Regions from separate parts of the Homo sapiens genome. Here all the other regions are linked to region 1. Evidence: promoter capture Hi-C in 16 types of primary human blood cells and fetal thymus (Javierre and others, 2016). All regions are on one chromosome and are shown on one strand. The core of a region is centred on a gene start or on the middle of the fragment in contact, and the rest is flanking DNA. Distances in the headings are between cores, read along the strand shown. Region 1 holds the start of ERRFI1 (ERBB receptor feedback inhibitor 1). Region 2 overlaps RERE (arginine-glutamic acid dipeptide repeats). Region 3 overlaps RERE (arginine-glutamic acid dipeptide repeats). Region 4 overlaps LINC03154 (long intergenic non-protein coding RNA 3154).

Evidence for each region. Contacts are between HindIII fragments. The CHiCAGO score rates a contact against its expected background, and 5 or more counts as called.
Region 2: a fragment that was not itself captured here is called in contact with the fragment with the promoter of ERRFI1 in region 1 in 1 of 17 cell types (M1 macrophages); the score reaches 5.2 in M1 macrophages.
Region 3: a contact is called between a fragment that was not itself captured here and the fragment with the promoter of ERRFI1 in region 1, in 12 of 17 cell types (naive CD4 T cells, total CD4 T cells, activated CD4 T cells and 9 more). The highest score is 10.4, in naive CD4 T cells.
Region 4: a contact is called between a fragment that was not itself captured here and the fragment with the promoter of ERRFI1 in region 1, in 3 of 17 cell types (M1 macrophages, M0 macrophages and total CD4 T cells). The highest score is 6.4, in M1 macrophages.

Annotation. Positions count from the first base shown.
Region 1 is chr1:8,024,457-8,028,089 of GRCh38, forward strand. ERRFI1 (ERBB receptor feedback inhibitor 1) reads right to left here and starts at 1,853. Exons shown (of 4, transcript NM_018948.4): 1 at 1,702-1,853. It overlaps ERRFI1-DT (ERRFI1 divergent transcript), which reads left to right and starts at 2,037. Exons shown (of 3, transcript NR_185980.1): 1 at 2,037-2,965. RefSeq lists silencers at 1,669-1,768, 1,889-1,938. The HindIII fragment of the contact is 13,168 bases long and covers 1-3,633 here.
Region 2 is chr1:8,380,811-8,384,443 of GRCh38, forward strand. The region is part of intron 12 of RERE (arginine-glutamic acid dipeptide repeats); the gene reads right to left. Among named protein-coding and RNA genes, the nearest start is that of RERE-AS1, 42 kb to the right of the region's middle. The HindIII fragment of the contact is 3,368 bases long and covers 1-3,246 here.
Region 3 is chr1:8,362,601-8,366,233 of GRCh38, forward strand. It overlaps RERE (arginine-glutamic acid dipeptide repeats), which reads right to left. Exons shown (of 23, transcript NM_001042681.2): 13 at 3,212-3,374; 14 at 2,146-2,238; 15 at 1,456-1,655; 16 at 83-244. Among named protein-coding and RNA genes, the nearest start is that of SLC45A1, 46 kb to the left of the region's middle. RefSeq lists an enhancer at 2,061-3,031. The HindIII fragment of the contact is 4,320 bases long and covers 1-3,633 here.
Region 4 is chr1:8,285,423-8,289,055 of GRCh38, forward strand. The region is part of intron 1 of LINC03154 (long intergenic non-protein coding RNA 3154); the gene reads left to right. Among named protein-coding and RNA genes, the nearest start is that of LINC03154, 28 kb to the left of the region's middle. RefSeq lists an enhancer at 2,904-3,404. The HindIII fragment of the contact is 9,150 bases long and covers 1-3,633 here.

The DNA of each region.
Region 1 (3,633 bases), core at 603-3,102:
AAACATGCTTTCATGCAATTATTTATCAACATCAACTATGTGCAAGGCTGCATAAGATAGAAGCTATACAAGGCAGAGTGCCTACCCTTAAGGAGTTTACAATCTAATATATCTGTCAGGTTATAAATCGTTAGTCTAAGACCTCTATCACTTATTATCGAGTGTCCCCTGGAACACACAGGTGAAAATAAACTTCTGCTTGAAGCAAAGGGAATGACAAATAGTTTCTGAAGTCCATGCTAAATCCTTTGTTATTTTTCTTCAAACTTGCTAATATCTGGAAAAGAACTTGCTTGATAACATATTGGTAACCAATTATAGCCAGCATGTTAGCAAGAAACCAGCTTCTTTTATTTTGGTCTTTGCAAAATTTGATCATTTGCTGATACCTAGCCTGTCTTTGGTCTCTGTTCAAATAAAATTTCACTTAAAACTGTATATTGTAATTACAGAAATATAAGAAAAGAAATGCAGTTAAAAAAATAGGTACGGTGAACTTGGGATGTTCAGTCTCAACAAATGTGTGTACCCACTGCATTCTTACACATTTATAAAAGGTTGAACATTTGTTCTGGAAGGGAAAAAAAGGGCATTTTAACCTCACCTTTCTTCACCCCTGACAGTTGCCTAGAAACCAGTCTTGCCCTACCTGTGTTGCAGGTGTACCTCAAGTCACCGACACATCTCTTTTAAAGCTACAGTCTCCATTCTGACTTAAGTTTATGACTAACCATCTATTCATATTTTTATCAGGTAAGAGACTGGTTTCTTTCAAGCAATGATGAAATCCTAATAAAGACTTAGCAAGCACTAATACAGCACCATTCACGGTTAAAGAGTCATCTAATTTGTACAGGGCTATGATATACATATAAATACACACACAAAATTCCCAATAAGCATTCACGTCTTGAACACATAATTTTGCAGTCCGATTCCATTCAAAGCCGTACTTAAGACACTCAGAGCAAAGAATCACGTTTCTAGGAGAGAAGGAAGAGTTCAGAACAGCTTAGACGAATTTTTAAATACTGATTTCGGCATTACCATCGTCGCTGTGAGATTAGGCAGAGGGAGCGGGGCTGACCGCCAGAGAACCGGTACCAACCACCGCAAGCAATCGCCGAGCCTCCCACCCCAGCTTTCAAGACAGGATTTACGGGTACACGGTGTGAACAAGACAACGCAACCCCCTTTTTACAAATAAAAAAAAAATCAAACAAGCCCCCAGGCCCGAAGACGCTCATCCCCGCCGGGCAACCCCGCGAGCGCAGGCTGCGGGACGAGGACCTTCATGCTCGCCGCTCCCGAACCCCCGTCCGCTCCTGCGGTCCCGGTGCTGCGGGGACGTATCCCGGGCGCTCGGGTGCATGGCCCCGGCCAGCCGAGGGGCCGCGCGACGACCACAGCCGGCGTGGAGAAGGCGGCGGGCGCCGGCACTTCGCGGCGTCCCCAGGCCCGGGCTGCGCCGCCGGGGAGGGTCCCGCTCTCCACACCTCAATGGGGAGAAGCCCGCGAGCGACCGGCCGGCCTCTCCCTCCATCCCAGAGACTCCGCGTCGCGGCGACCCTCCCCGCGCCCTCCACGCCCCCGCCCTCGCGTCGGGGAGCCGCCTGGATCCCGGCGCCCGGCGCGGGGCCCCCTGAGGGAACGGAGCGCTGCGTGGCCCTCCCCACCCCCTCAGCGCGCCAGGCCCCTTACCCCGGAGGAGCGGCGGCTGCCCCGCGGCGCCCTCCCGCGCATGTCCGTCCCGGCTGGCTCAGCGCCGCGGGCTCAGGGGCCCGGACATCGCGCAGGCGCCTCTTGCTGGCTCGCGCTCCCGCTAGCACTCTGCCTCGCACCGGACCGCCGTCGCCGCGGCTGCCGCCGCCGCCTCTATATATAGCATAGGCCGCCGGGCCGTGAGGTCGCCGCGTCCCGCCCCGCCTCCTCCCGCAGCCAATCAGGGCGCGCGCCGCTTAAAGGGGCGATGCCGTGGCCGAGGCGTTGCGCCGGGCCCACCGTGGCGTATCGCGGCGCTGCAGGGAGCCGGCTTTGTCTCCCGGAGAGGCGTCTCCGGGCTGACCGCGGCCGCAGCTCCGCTCCTCTGCCTGAGCCGTGCGGCAGCCCTGGGAGCCTCTCAACGCCGAGCTTTCCTCAGAAGCCCGCGGCGACCCGGGCCTCGGCCGCTGTTCCTGCCCGAACTGAGGGCACATCGCGCTTCGCGCGGGATTTCCCATAAATTCAGGCTCCGGGCAAGATTGTGTGTTTTTTCCTCTCCGCGGGCCGCCGCTGGCCGTGTGGGCCGAAGAAGCCCTGGAGGGGGAGAGGGGAGCCGCTCTCGACTGGGCTTGCGGCGTGGGAGGGACAGTGAGGGACACTTAGGGACTGTGTGGGGCAGTGAAGGATAGTGTGGGATGATGAGGGACCGTGTGGACCGGTGAGCGACTGTGTGGGACAGTGCGGGACGATGAGAGACGGTGTGGGACGGTGAGGGACAGTGCGGGACGATGAGGGACAGTGAGGGACTGTGTAGGACAGTGAGGGACAGTGTGGGACGGTGAGGGACTGTGGGACAGTGAGGGACTTTGGGACTGTGAGGGACTCGGACAGTGAAGGATGGCAAGGGACAGTGTGGGACAGTATGGGACAGTGGACAGTGAGGCACTGTGAGGGGCGGTGAGGGACAATGAAGGATGTCAAGGGACAGTGTGGGACAGTGGACGGTGAGGTACTGTGAGGGGCGGTGAGGGACAGTGTGGGACTGTGAGGGATGGCGAGGGACAGAGTAGGACAGCAAGGGAGGATGAGGGGACAGAGTGGGCCGGCGTGGGGCGGTGAGGCTACGCGGGGGGAACCCAGGGCTCCTCTGACTGCGTTGGAATATGGAGGAAAGGTCCTGCTCGAGGTTGAGCCCTTCAGGGTCGCTGTGGGTTTCCAGGAGGAGCTCCCTCACTACTGACTTAGGGGGCCCTCGGCTTCCCAGGTTTGTGTTTACTCAGGCGACCTGAGCTGGCCCCGACGTCTTTTGGCTTTGGAGAGGCCACGGATGCCCAAGGACAAAGCCCCAGCGGGCCTGTGGGAGGAGGTTTCTCGGGGCGCCAGTGATGCAACTTAGGCTTATAGTTTAACCGTAAAATAAATAATACAAATGATAACAAACCAAGAGTGACTAAAGTCAGAAAAAAAGCAAACAGACGGAAACCCTCTAGTTTTAACTAGAACAAATTCCCTGGCTGGTCCTCTGTTGGGAGAGCCCAGAGACCTGTCGCTGACCTCTAGCCTCCTGGAGCCCCTGCTTGCACTTCAGCAATAATGCCTGATAGTTAGACACTGATCACTAGCTAATTGGGGTAGTTTAACATATGGAATGAGATTCTGGCCTTATTATCAGGTTAACTATTAACTCTACACCCCATGAAATGATTTGCCTTTCCCCCACTATTATTTACTTACATTCTTTTTAATTTAATTCAAAGGCCTAATTTTGAATTCAAGGCCTTAAGCACGAAAAGGAAAAAAAAAAGAAAAAGAATCTGAAGTATCTTTGCCCTCTCTCACTTGCAAAACAAACGAACGTTTTGCAGAGAGAAATCTGGCTTCCTTTCTGATGGCTCTTCTGGCTTACAAGGGGCTGTTGGGTCATTTTCATGC
Region 2 (3,633 bases), core at 313-2,812, 360 kb after region 1:
GAAGGAACCAAAGTCAGGGCAGAGAGGGGCGTTCCAGAGCTGGACCTTGGAGTCCTGGTCCTGAAAGTGCTCAGCGCTGCTGTAACGTCTGCCAGGGCTTGGGAGCCTCCATCTCCTACCACGTTCGGCTTCTTGAGTCCTTCCCTGGGTAAAAGGGACCAATGGTTTTTCCCACATGTCCTGCCTCTGACCCCAGGATCTCCTTGGGTGCAGACACCTGGAACGCCTTCTCCTGGTTGCTGCTGGCCCACCCCTCCAGCTCTATGTGCTGTCATCCACACCACCTCATACACACTTTACTGACCCATAGGAAGCGAGTTTCCGATGCGCCTGTTTCCATGATTACCAACTCTCTCACTCAGCTGTGACCTTTTTGTGGCTCATACATCACTGAGTCCTGCAGGATATCAAGTTATGTCTATAACATGATTCCCCTCCTCCCTTTCCTCCGACTGGACTCTAAACTGCAAGTGAACAGGGGATGTGGCCACTCTAAACCTTGTAACCTGCGCAATCATTAGCAGAGTGCCTGACACAAGATGGGTGCTCGGGAAACGCTAACTTGAACTGAGATCTATCACAGACACACAGACATAGAAGAATTATACTGCACCAGAAATACATAAAACAGAGGAGTCACTAACAGTCATAAAAGTGAAATAACTCAGTTTCAGTGATAAGAAATTTGGAAATCTTTCAGTGAACCATTTCAAAATTGAGCTAAACACACATAGGTGGAAAATTAGTTACGAGAATCAAAATTATTCAAGGTAATTATTATTTCCCTTAATTTATCTGTACATTAAAGTAAAAAACAAAACAAAATGAAAACAAAACACAAAGAGTCCCTTGATCCATTTAATTAGTTAAGGTTACTCTCAAAAATGAAAATGATTTCCCCAGCCCCGGGGACGCGCCAGTGTGAAATGAGAACAAGAGTCTTACAGGGAGTGTTCCTGCACATACACGTATGCACTAATGTGCGCTTGGAATTTACCAGAACACACGTGTTTTTTGTTTTACAAATCTATGATGAAACCACACAGGCCTTGGCTTGACACTGTTCCAGGGGCTAAGTCTTAACCTGAATTAACCAAGCTGCACTGTGGTCCAATGACACTTTGGCACTAAAAGAATAACTTCCATTTTTCTGAGGCTGAGCGTTTTCTCATTTCACGCTGTGAGAATCCTCTGGACCTGCCTTAAGAGCACTCAGGAAAGTGGTTACAGTCAAAATCTTCCTCTAAGGATTAGTAATAACACAGGACCAAAGCTCAAAAGCAGGAGAAAGTGAGCACCAAATTCCTTCAGTGTGCTGGAGCACATAGAGACTTCCTGCAGGCAGATAGCAAGAGGCTCTGGGATTATGCCTGCAAGCTAGCCATGCTGCTAGGCTCTTAACAAAACAGAACAAGGACAGCCTGCTGAGCTGTGGCCTGAAGCACCAGTAATGACAGCTCTCTGCCAACGGCAGTGGTCAACACTTCCACCAGCTTGGCTCCAGTGATCTCAGGTCCACCTTTGTGCCCACAAGTATCCCAATTTCTTCAGGACCAGGTGGCACTCTCAGCTGCCTCCACATGAATTAACGAAACTCAATTCGCAGCTTAGGCTTTGGCTCAGCCACGTGCGCATGCGTGCGTGTGCATGAGAGAGCGCGCATGCTGGGGAAGAATGGAGAAAAACAATGAACAAACATTGACTGTCTAGCCTTTTTCAACTGGAGTTCTTAAAATGAAGTGACTATTAATATTTTCTCAATTCTCCTATGAACGGAACATAACAGGTACCTTTCTAGATGCACAGGCAAGACGTTACTACGTTACACACAATGGATGCCCGGCTTCTGAGGCTTACCTCTCTCAGAACTCCGAGTGAGAACAGCTGCCACTGGCTGCACGACCTTGAGCAAATTCCCTAACCTCTCTTGGCCTCTGTTTCTTCATTTTAAAAATGGAGAAAAACCACCACAGGAAGGTTAAGGAACCTCCTCGAGACTCTCCTTATCTAGAAACCTGGGCTGCCTCGCCACGAGCTCCCTCCTTTATAGGGTTGTGGTGAGGATGGAAGTGCCAAAAAGGAGCCGGCACACATGCTCAGTAAGTGACAGGATTTTTTCTTGAAAATCCTTTTCCATCTGGGAAAAGGACCAGAAACTCAGAACTAAGTTCACCTTAAAGGACTATTTTAATTGACTAAGTTAAAAAAAAAAAAAAAGTCTTTCAAAGAATGGTTTCTGCAACCAACTTCCTTCCTCTATCATGTTTCCCCTAGAACGACAGTGCCTTATGTAGTCAAAGAATAAGAGAATGTTAGAGATGGTGAATGGTAATGGTGTCTGGGCCTAGTTCACAATCTGAAAGATAAGCGCTGGTCAAGGAGAAGAGTATTCTGTCTGAAGATCTCAGCTGCAACCAGCAGAACCATAAATGCCCAACAGCCCACTGAGGCCACCTAAGAAGCCTGTCTCCACCCAGGTCCAGCTTCTCTCTTACACAATCGGCAACAGAATGACGCCACACAAGATCATTAAACATTTCAGCAGGAATAAAAACGAAACCAAGAGAATGCACCTGCCAATCTATATCAGGCAACTATGGGGTTTGTGAGCCGTCCTTGCACTTTAATGCAGAATTAGCTTTGATGCACAGATTGGAAAGGTCCAGCTTAAGGGACTTAGAACATCCCATTATTTAATTTTATGACACCATCACTCCACTCTTAAATGTGTCGAAGAACATACACTTATGTTACAATTTATGCCCAAGGGCCAGGTGCGGTGGCTCATACCTGTAATCCCAGCACTTTGGGAGGCTGAGGTGGGTGGATCACGAGGTCAGGAGTTTGAGACCAGCCTGACCAACACGGTGAAACTTTATCTCTACTAAAAATACAAAAATTAGCCGGGTGTGGTGGCACGCACCTGTACTCCCAGCTACTTAGGAGGCTGAGGCAGGAGAATCGCTTGAGCCCGGGAGGTGAAGGTTGCAGTGAGCTGAGATTGCGCCACTGCACTCCAGCCTGGGTGACAAAGTGAGACTCTGTCTCAAAAAATAAATAAAATAAAATAAAATAAAATAAAATAAAAATGTATGCCAAACTACAATGAATTCTATTGCCGAATTTTAAAAATATTCACTTATGATAATGTGGGGCTCACTAGAGTGTCACAAACTCCAGAATGAAAATTAGTGGCTTAGATTACAAACTCTCGTAGTAGAAAGGTCTAAAGACTCTTTAGAATTAAGCTTGAAAGAATCTGTGTTTCTGATGCTGAGAAGAGCATAGGGAACAGGTTGTACAATCAACCGCCTCACCCCAAAGCCTCCTTGGGTCCACTGCTTCCTCAGGTCGGGGTCTTACTGTTTATTCCACATCGTGGCTGTCCCTCTACCCCTCTAGGCTGTGTGACTGGGAACATGTAAGCTGGGATGCACGGAGGTCCAGTCTCTCCCTGAGTCATGCGCATCCTGTTCCTGCTGCCCTAGTTTTTTCTTGTGGGATACAATGTCAGTTCTGTAATCTGTCCCCTCTGTAGGGGTAAAGAGATGTGCTGACGTGCTCAGAAAAGGAACATGCTTCTCTGGATGCCATGAGGTACTAAAACACCTGTATCTTAAAGGGGCATTAATA
Region 3 (3,633 bases), core at 769-3,268, 340 kb after region 1:
GGAGCTGATCACGAATACCAGCAAACCAGTTTTAATGTGAGGGAGGGACAGAGTAGGCCCTACTATCCCCCCAGCACCTGACCTTGGCCGACTTCTTCACTGTCTCTGCTTTACTGTCATTGCTGGAGGTACTGGCAGCGCTGGGGGAGTTCCGGCCGCTGGAGCGGATGTCTTCATTGATGGGTGAGGTGCGACCATCAGGGCTGGCTGGCTGCTTCTTCCGACCACTGCGTAGTGTCGACATCTGCCCACCCAAACCGAAGACTGGTGACACCAGATTCCCAGTCCCCATGTGGACCCACCTGAGCCCAACCCACAGGCAGAAGCCTGAAGGCACACCCTATCAGCCTCTCAGCAAATCCCAGACCTTGGCAAACAACAGGCCGCCCTGCCTGTCCCTGGCTGCATGAAGGTCGGTGTGGAGCTCAGGGAAGAGGTGGGGAAATCAGTGGGCTCACGCCAGAGGGCGGTTCTCAAACCTAAAGCACTCATCCCAAGGGACTGTCCTGAACAACGTGTGCTGGAAATGAACCACACTTTCTGAGCGGCAGAAAGTCGCCTGGGGCCATCTTTAAAGCACCCTACACCCTTTCTGTTTATTCCTCATAACCGTCCATTCTCCCAACCAAACCAAATGAAATCAAACACTTGTGGATTTAATCTGACAGGACAGGAAGTGACCCAAAGAGATGAAGCTGTCAAGTAAAGCAGCTCAGCTCCCCAAGCCGCCAAGCGCTTCAGCATGTTTCTGCAAAGCCATGAGGGCTCAGAAGAGATCAGGAGACAATGGTTCTGGCTGGTTGACCTGCTCCCTTCTGAGTGAGCGGGGGCCGGGCTGCCAGCAGCCTCAACGGCATACAAGGGGCAGAGGAAAGTGGATGGTCCCACCCACCTGCCAGAAGGGGCCATAAGGGAGGCTGAAGGGAAAGACCCTGTCAGTACCCTCAGCCCCAAACCTGGAAAAAGCCTCTCCCAAAGTCCCTGGCACATTTCCAACCTAGGAAACAAAGTCTCTTTATGGGAGGAGCTATGCAGTGAGCAGAAAAATGTATCGGAAGTTTCCAAAACGGGATCAAACATTTAAAAAAAATCACAAACACACTAACACAAAAGAGCCTGCAAGTTTAAAATAGCAGAGATTTGATACAATGGAAGTGACACCACAAGCAGCAGCCTTGGAGAGCAAGAGGGGCCTTGGAGAGCCTGCACTGAGCCAGAAGCTAAGAGCTTGCTACAAAACCCAGAGCAGGATGCCACCCTGGGGCCCCTCGAAGGAGAGAACAGAGAACTCTTCCCAGCCCACAGGCAAGCTACCGCCTCGGGCAAAGCAGCTCCCCTCCAGGACTTTGTCTGGTAAACAAGACTTTCGCTTCCTCCCCCTGGGAGGCTCAAGCCCCCACACATCCCAGGAAACTGAAGAAGTTGCCAGGAGCCCCATGGCCCCAGGGGACTCACCGAGCCCCGACTCCGCCGTGTCCTCATGCTATGCTTCCCACTGAGCCCATCATCCTCTTCCTTGACGGGTTTGAACATAAACGGTGGCGGGTCCACGGGCTTCTCAATGGGCGGGAGCTCACCGTATTTCTTGAAGTGGATGCGACAGTCGGTGCAAAGCAGGATGTTCTCCCGGCCTCCGTGGTGCCAATCTTTGGAGGCTGTGTGAGGGAAGTGGTGGGGGCCAACCTTGGAAACCATCCCTCTCCCTGGGGATGTCTGGGCAGAGGGGCCCTTCTGTGGGCTCTACCCAAACCTGATGCCACCAGCACCATGCAGCCCTGGGCCCCAACACCCCAGGGCTAGTGCTGCCCTGCTCCCCCAAGGCCAGGAGAGGGTTTCAGGGGCATCTGCTGCCCACTTCAACTTGGGGTGCCCAGGAAAAGCTGGCAGCAAGCTCCTGGGAACTACAGTGTCAACCCCCCAATCCCACTCAATCTGTCCTGCCTACCAGTCAGTATTCCATACCGACTGCCAAGCAGAGGAGTAAAGTAAACTAAACATTTCTAACTTTCTCGAATCCCGAAGCACAATGCAAATGTCAAATCAAGTACTGTCCCTGGCAGGTTTCCAGCTGGATGCATGAAATGTTCAGAACATGGAAGTGCTTGTGCCCCCGCCCCGCCCCAGGAGCGTGACGAGGCCACTTACTGGTGGTGAAGCAGTGGCGGCAGGCGTACCCCTTCAGCTCCTGCTCACTGTCCTCACTGTCGAAGTCATCTTCACTGGCTGAACTTAGGTCCACTGGGCGTGGCAGGCACATAGTGGGGGTGGGGGAGACACCATCATGCTCAGCCAAGGCTGGGCCGGTGGGGTGGGGGGGAGGGGGGAACACCTGTGACCTCTGGCCTACTGCAGGTTCTGGCCACCAGTCAGAGCGGCTGGGTGCACAGGCTGAGGTAGGACAGTGTCTGCAAAGGACCACTTCGAGCTCCTCAGTGTCAGTCACCAGGACAGAGGGCCTGTGTGTGAGGCGCCATACCCAAGGGCCTGCCCTGCCACTGATGCCCGTAACGGGTGAGTCTGAACTGGGACAAGCGCGTCCATGCTGCCTCCCTCCCTAATACGCCCAGGCAATCCTGAGAAATTCCAACTTCACCGAGCGCCCCCAACCCGTCCTGCTAGGTGATTTCTAGTCGCCTGCATGCGCAACACCGGCGCCCCTCAGGTTCAGCGTCCCGGGCCAGGACAGAGCTATAAGGCACTTTTGCTACACCCCAGTTTTTTAGGGGTGAGAAGGTGTGGGCTCCAGCATCATTAGATTGTACATCATACTGGGACCAAAAAGAGGATCTTGGTGAAGCAGGAGGAAAAAGAAGAAAGTGTTAATCTGATCTTCTTACAACCAAAAGTGCAATGAGAATTCAAGCAGGACATCAAGTACATCATCTGTCAAATGGAAAACCTTCCCAGGACAAGGCCAAAAACATCCCAGGCCAAGACGTGTATTTTTTGTAAAAACCTAAGATGATGTTGAGTTTATGAGAAATATTTAAATGTACAAATAATGTTTTAAAGTCTCCCTCCTGAATCCTTGTCCTGCTCCCCGCCCCCACCATCGGTCTATGTTTAGGTCAGGCTTCACACATGCACTGGAGCACGGGTGCACACCCCCTCATGCTTCCCGGAGCCATCAGCTCCTACGGGCCCAGAGTGGGACAGGCTGCCCGTGAACAGTCTCCCCTCCGCCCACTGTGATGCCAAGACCCCTACTCACAGAATTCACTGGACGGGGGTCTGGAGGGTGTGTTGACGGGTGTGGACGCGGTGCGAGTCTTAATCCTCCTGAACACGGCCTGCCTGCGGTGCCTACGATGGGCTCGGGAGCTGGCTGCTTCGGGGGTCTTCTTCCAATAGTAATAGAAGGTGATCAGCTCCCCCTGCAGAAGAGAAGGGCTGACTGTGGGGGAGGGCCTGGGGCTTTTCCGTGCCCCACGCACCCTCTCTGCCACAGTGGAAAGCTGGGTGTTTAACAGCTGTGCCAGAGATGAGAATAAAGACCAGTCGCTCCTGGAGTTGGGAGAGGAACTGGGCTTGCCCAAGAAACAGCCACTGAGCTGCCCGTGGACTGCATGAATGGGGCCCGCCTCCTCAGCCCAGCACAGCTTGACTTCCAGACACCAAGAACAAGTACTTGTT
Region 4 (3,633 bases), core at 616-3,115, 260 kb after region 1:
GTGTGAAATGGCTGTAATATAATAAAACTAGAGATTAATGACAAATGAAAAGGCAAAAAGACCTTTCACCTGGAAATTTAAAAGCCTCTAATAACTCTTAAGTCAATAAAGAAATATAAAACGAAGTTCAGAATGTCTTGAAAATAAGGATGAGGTTGGGCATGGTGGCTCACACCTGTAATCCCAGCACTTTGGGAGGCTGAGGCAGGCAGATCATGAGGTTAGGGGTTTGAGACCAGCCTGACCAACATGGTGAAACCCCGTCTCTACTAAAAACACAAAAATTAGCCGGGCATGGTGGCAGGCACCTGTAATCTCAGCTACTCAGGAGGCTGAGGCAGGAGAATCGCTTGAACCTGGGAGGTGGAGGTTGCAGTGAGCCAAAATCACGCCATCGTACTCCAGCCTGAGCAACAGAGTGAGACTCCGTCTCAAAAAAAAAAAAATTAGAAAAAAAAAGAAGGATGAAAACACAACACATCAAAATGTGTGTGATGGAAAGCTAAAACTTACAGGAAAATTATAATATTTAATGCTTGTATCAGTAAAAATTTAAAAATAAAAACGAGTGAGTTAAATACCCAACACAAAATAGAAAACAGACATACAAGAGAGGACAAAAGTTTACTCCTTTGAAAATTCAAAGAAAATGGACAACCCTCTGGAAAGATTGCTCAAAGAAAAAAGATTATTTATAAAAACATAAATAAGACTAAGAATGAGAAAAAGACAAAAGTACAAAGTCAGCAAAAATGTAAAATATTTATAGTAAGAGAAGATGATAAAAACTTTAGGCCAGTAAACATGAAAACGTAGGTTAAATGGGTAAAATCATAGAAAAAATTTAAACTTGTCAAAACTAACTAGAGAAGAAATAGAAAGTGTAATGCTCCCTGTTAATGATAGCACAGTCCCAACAAGAATATCAAATTGTTTTTTCTGCAACTGGACAAGTTGATCATAAAAGTCCTTTAGAAGAAGTAAAGAGCAAAGAATTGTCAGGAAAATTCCATCCCAAAAAACAAATGAAATACTTGGGGGTTGGCTAGCCCACTATAGCGCCTCTGTAGTGAAATCTATATGGGCTGGGCACGTGGCTCATGCCTCCAATCTCAGCACTTTGGGAGGCCGAGGTAGGAGGATCACTTGAGCTCAGAAGTTCAAGATCATTCTAGGCAACATAGTGAGTCCTTGTCTCTACTAAAATTTAAAAAAAATTAGCAAGGAGTGGTGGTGCATGTCTGTAGTCCCAGCTACTTGGGAAGCTGAGGTGGGAGGATTGCTTTAGCCTGGGAGATGGAGGCTTCAGTGAGCCCTGATCGTGCCACTGCACTCCAGCCTGGGCAACAGAAGGAGACGCTGTCTCAAAACAACAACAAACAAAAAACCCCAGTATGGTATTGATATGTGCATATATGGACACACAAATCAAACAGAATAGGAAATCCAGAAATAGACCCAACTGAACATAGAAATTCAATATACAATTAAGTTGACATCTCAAACCAGTGGGAAAATTTTAATACATGGTATTAAGATACCCAGAAGGCTACAAAGAAATACAAAATTGAGTCCATTCTTTTTTTTTTTTTTTGAGACGGCGTCTCACTCTGTTGCCAGGCTGGAGTGCAGTGGTGCGATATTGGCTCACTACAACCTCTGCCTCCCAGGTTCAAGCTATTCTCCTGCCTCAGCCTCCGGAGTAACCAGGGTTACAGGCGCCCGCCACCACACCCAGCTAATTTTTGTATTTTTAGTAGAGATGGGGTTTCACCATGTTGGCCAGAATGGTCTCGATCTCTTGACCTCGTGATCCGTCCGACTCGGCCTCCCAAAGTGCTGGAATTACAGATGTGAGCCGCCGCACCTGGACGCATTGAGCCCATTCTTATACCATACAACAGAATAAAGTCCAAATGGATCACATATTTAGATGTAAAATAAGGAAAACATGGAGAAATTACTGTATAACCTACAAATAAAGAAACTTTCCTATGACTCAATTTCCAGAAACAACAAGGAAAAAGATTGATAAATACGTTTACATAAAAATATAAAATTTGGCCGGGCGTGGTGGCTCTTACGTGTAATCTCAGCACTCTGAAAGGCCGAGATGGGTGATCACCTGAGGTCAGGAGTTCAAGACCAGCCTGGCCAACATGGTGAAACCGCATGTCTACTAAAAATACAAAAATTAGCTGTGCGTGGCAGTGTGCGCCTGTAGTCCCAGCTACTCGGCAAGCTGAGGCAGGAAGATTCCTTGAACCCAGGAGGCGGAGGTTGCAGTGAGCCGAGATTTTGCCACTGCACTCCAGCCTGGGCGATAGAGTGAGGCTCTGTCTCAAAAAAAAACATGCTAAGTAAAAAAACAAAGCGAGAAAAACATTTACAAAAGTATCTATATTTTAGGTTAAGCCATTTGAAATTGCTGATATTTGACCATTTTTGACCTAACAAAATGGCAATTTCATAGGCTTCAACTTAGTACCTAATATACAAAGAGCGCCTAAAAAAAATGGGGAATATCTCCATAGAAGAATGCACCAGAGATATGAACCCATCATTTACAAAATAAAAATGCGATGACTTTTAACCATATGACAAGATGCTGAAGCACGCTCTTAAGACTCTATCCCAAAGATACATTGCAAAAATGCTCAAAAGATATATACAAAAGCAGTTTAGTACATCACTGTGTGTAATAGCAAAAGAGTAGAAACAATTCAGACGTCTCAATATCTGAGAGAGTGAGTCCTCCAACTCTGACCTCTTCTCTCCATGATGATCTTGGATATTCTTAGATCTTTGCATTTCCATGTACGTTATTAAATCTGTTTTTCTTTTTTTTTTTTTTTTGAGATGGAGTTTCACTCTTGCCGCCCAGGCTGGAGTGCAATGGCGTGATCTTGAAAAATCTGTTTTTCAACTTACCCAGACACTCAGTCTTATTGAGTTTTGTATTGGGATCAAGTTGAATCTGTAGATCAATTTGGGAAGAACTGGCATCTTTATAAAATTGAGTATTCAAACTATAAACATTGATTTAGACCTACTTTAATTAATCTCAATGTTTTGTAGTTTTCTATGTAGAAATCTTTAAAAATATTTTCTCAGATTTATTATATGTTTTTTGGTTTGTTTGGTTTTTGTTTTTTTCTTTTGAGACATAGTCTCACTCTGTCGCCCAGGCTGGAGTGCAGTGGCGTGATCTCGGCTCACTAAAAACTCCGCCTCCTGGGTTCAAGTGATTCTCCTGCCTCAGCCTCCTGAGTAGCTGGGATTACAGGCGTGCACCACCACACCAGGCTGATTTTTGTATTTTTAGTAGAGACAGGGTTACACCATGTTGGCCAGGCTGCTTTCGAACTCCTGGCCTCAGGCCATCCATCTGCCTCCACCTCATGAAGTGTTGGGATAACAGGTGTGAGCCCACTGGGCCCAGCCTACTCTGTTTTTTATTTTCTTTGAAACTATTATAGGCTGGGCGCAGTGACTCATGCCTGTAATCCCAGCACTTCGGGAGCCCGAAGCAGGATTGCTCGAGCTCGGGAGATCAAGACCAGCCTTAGCAACATGGCAAAACCCAGTCTCTACAATAAAACACAAAAATTATCCAGGCATGGTGGTGCGTGC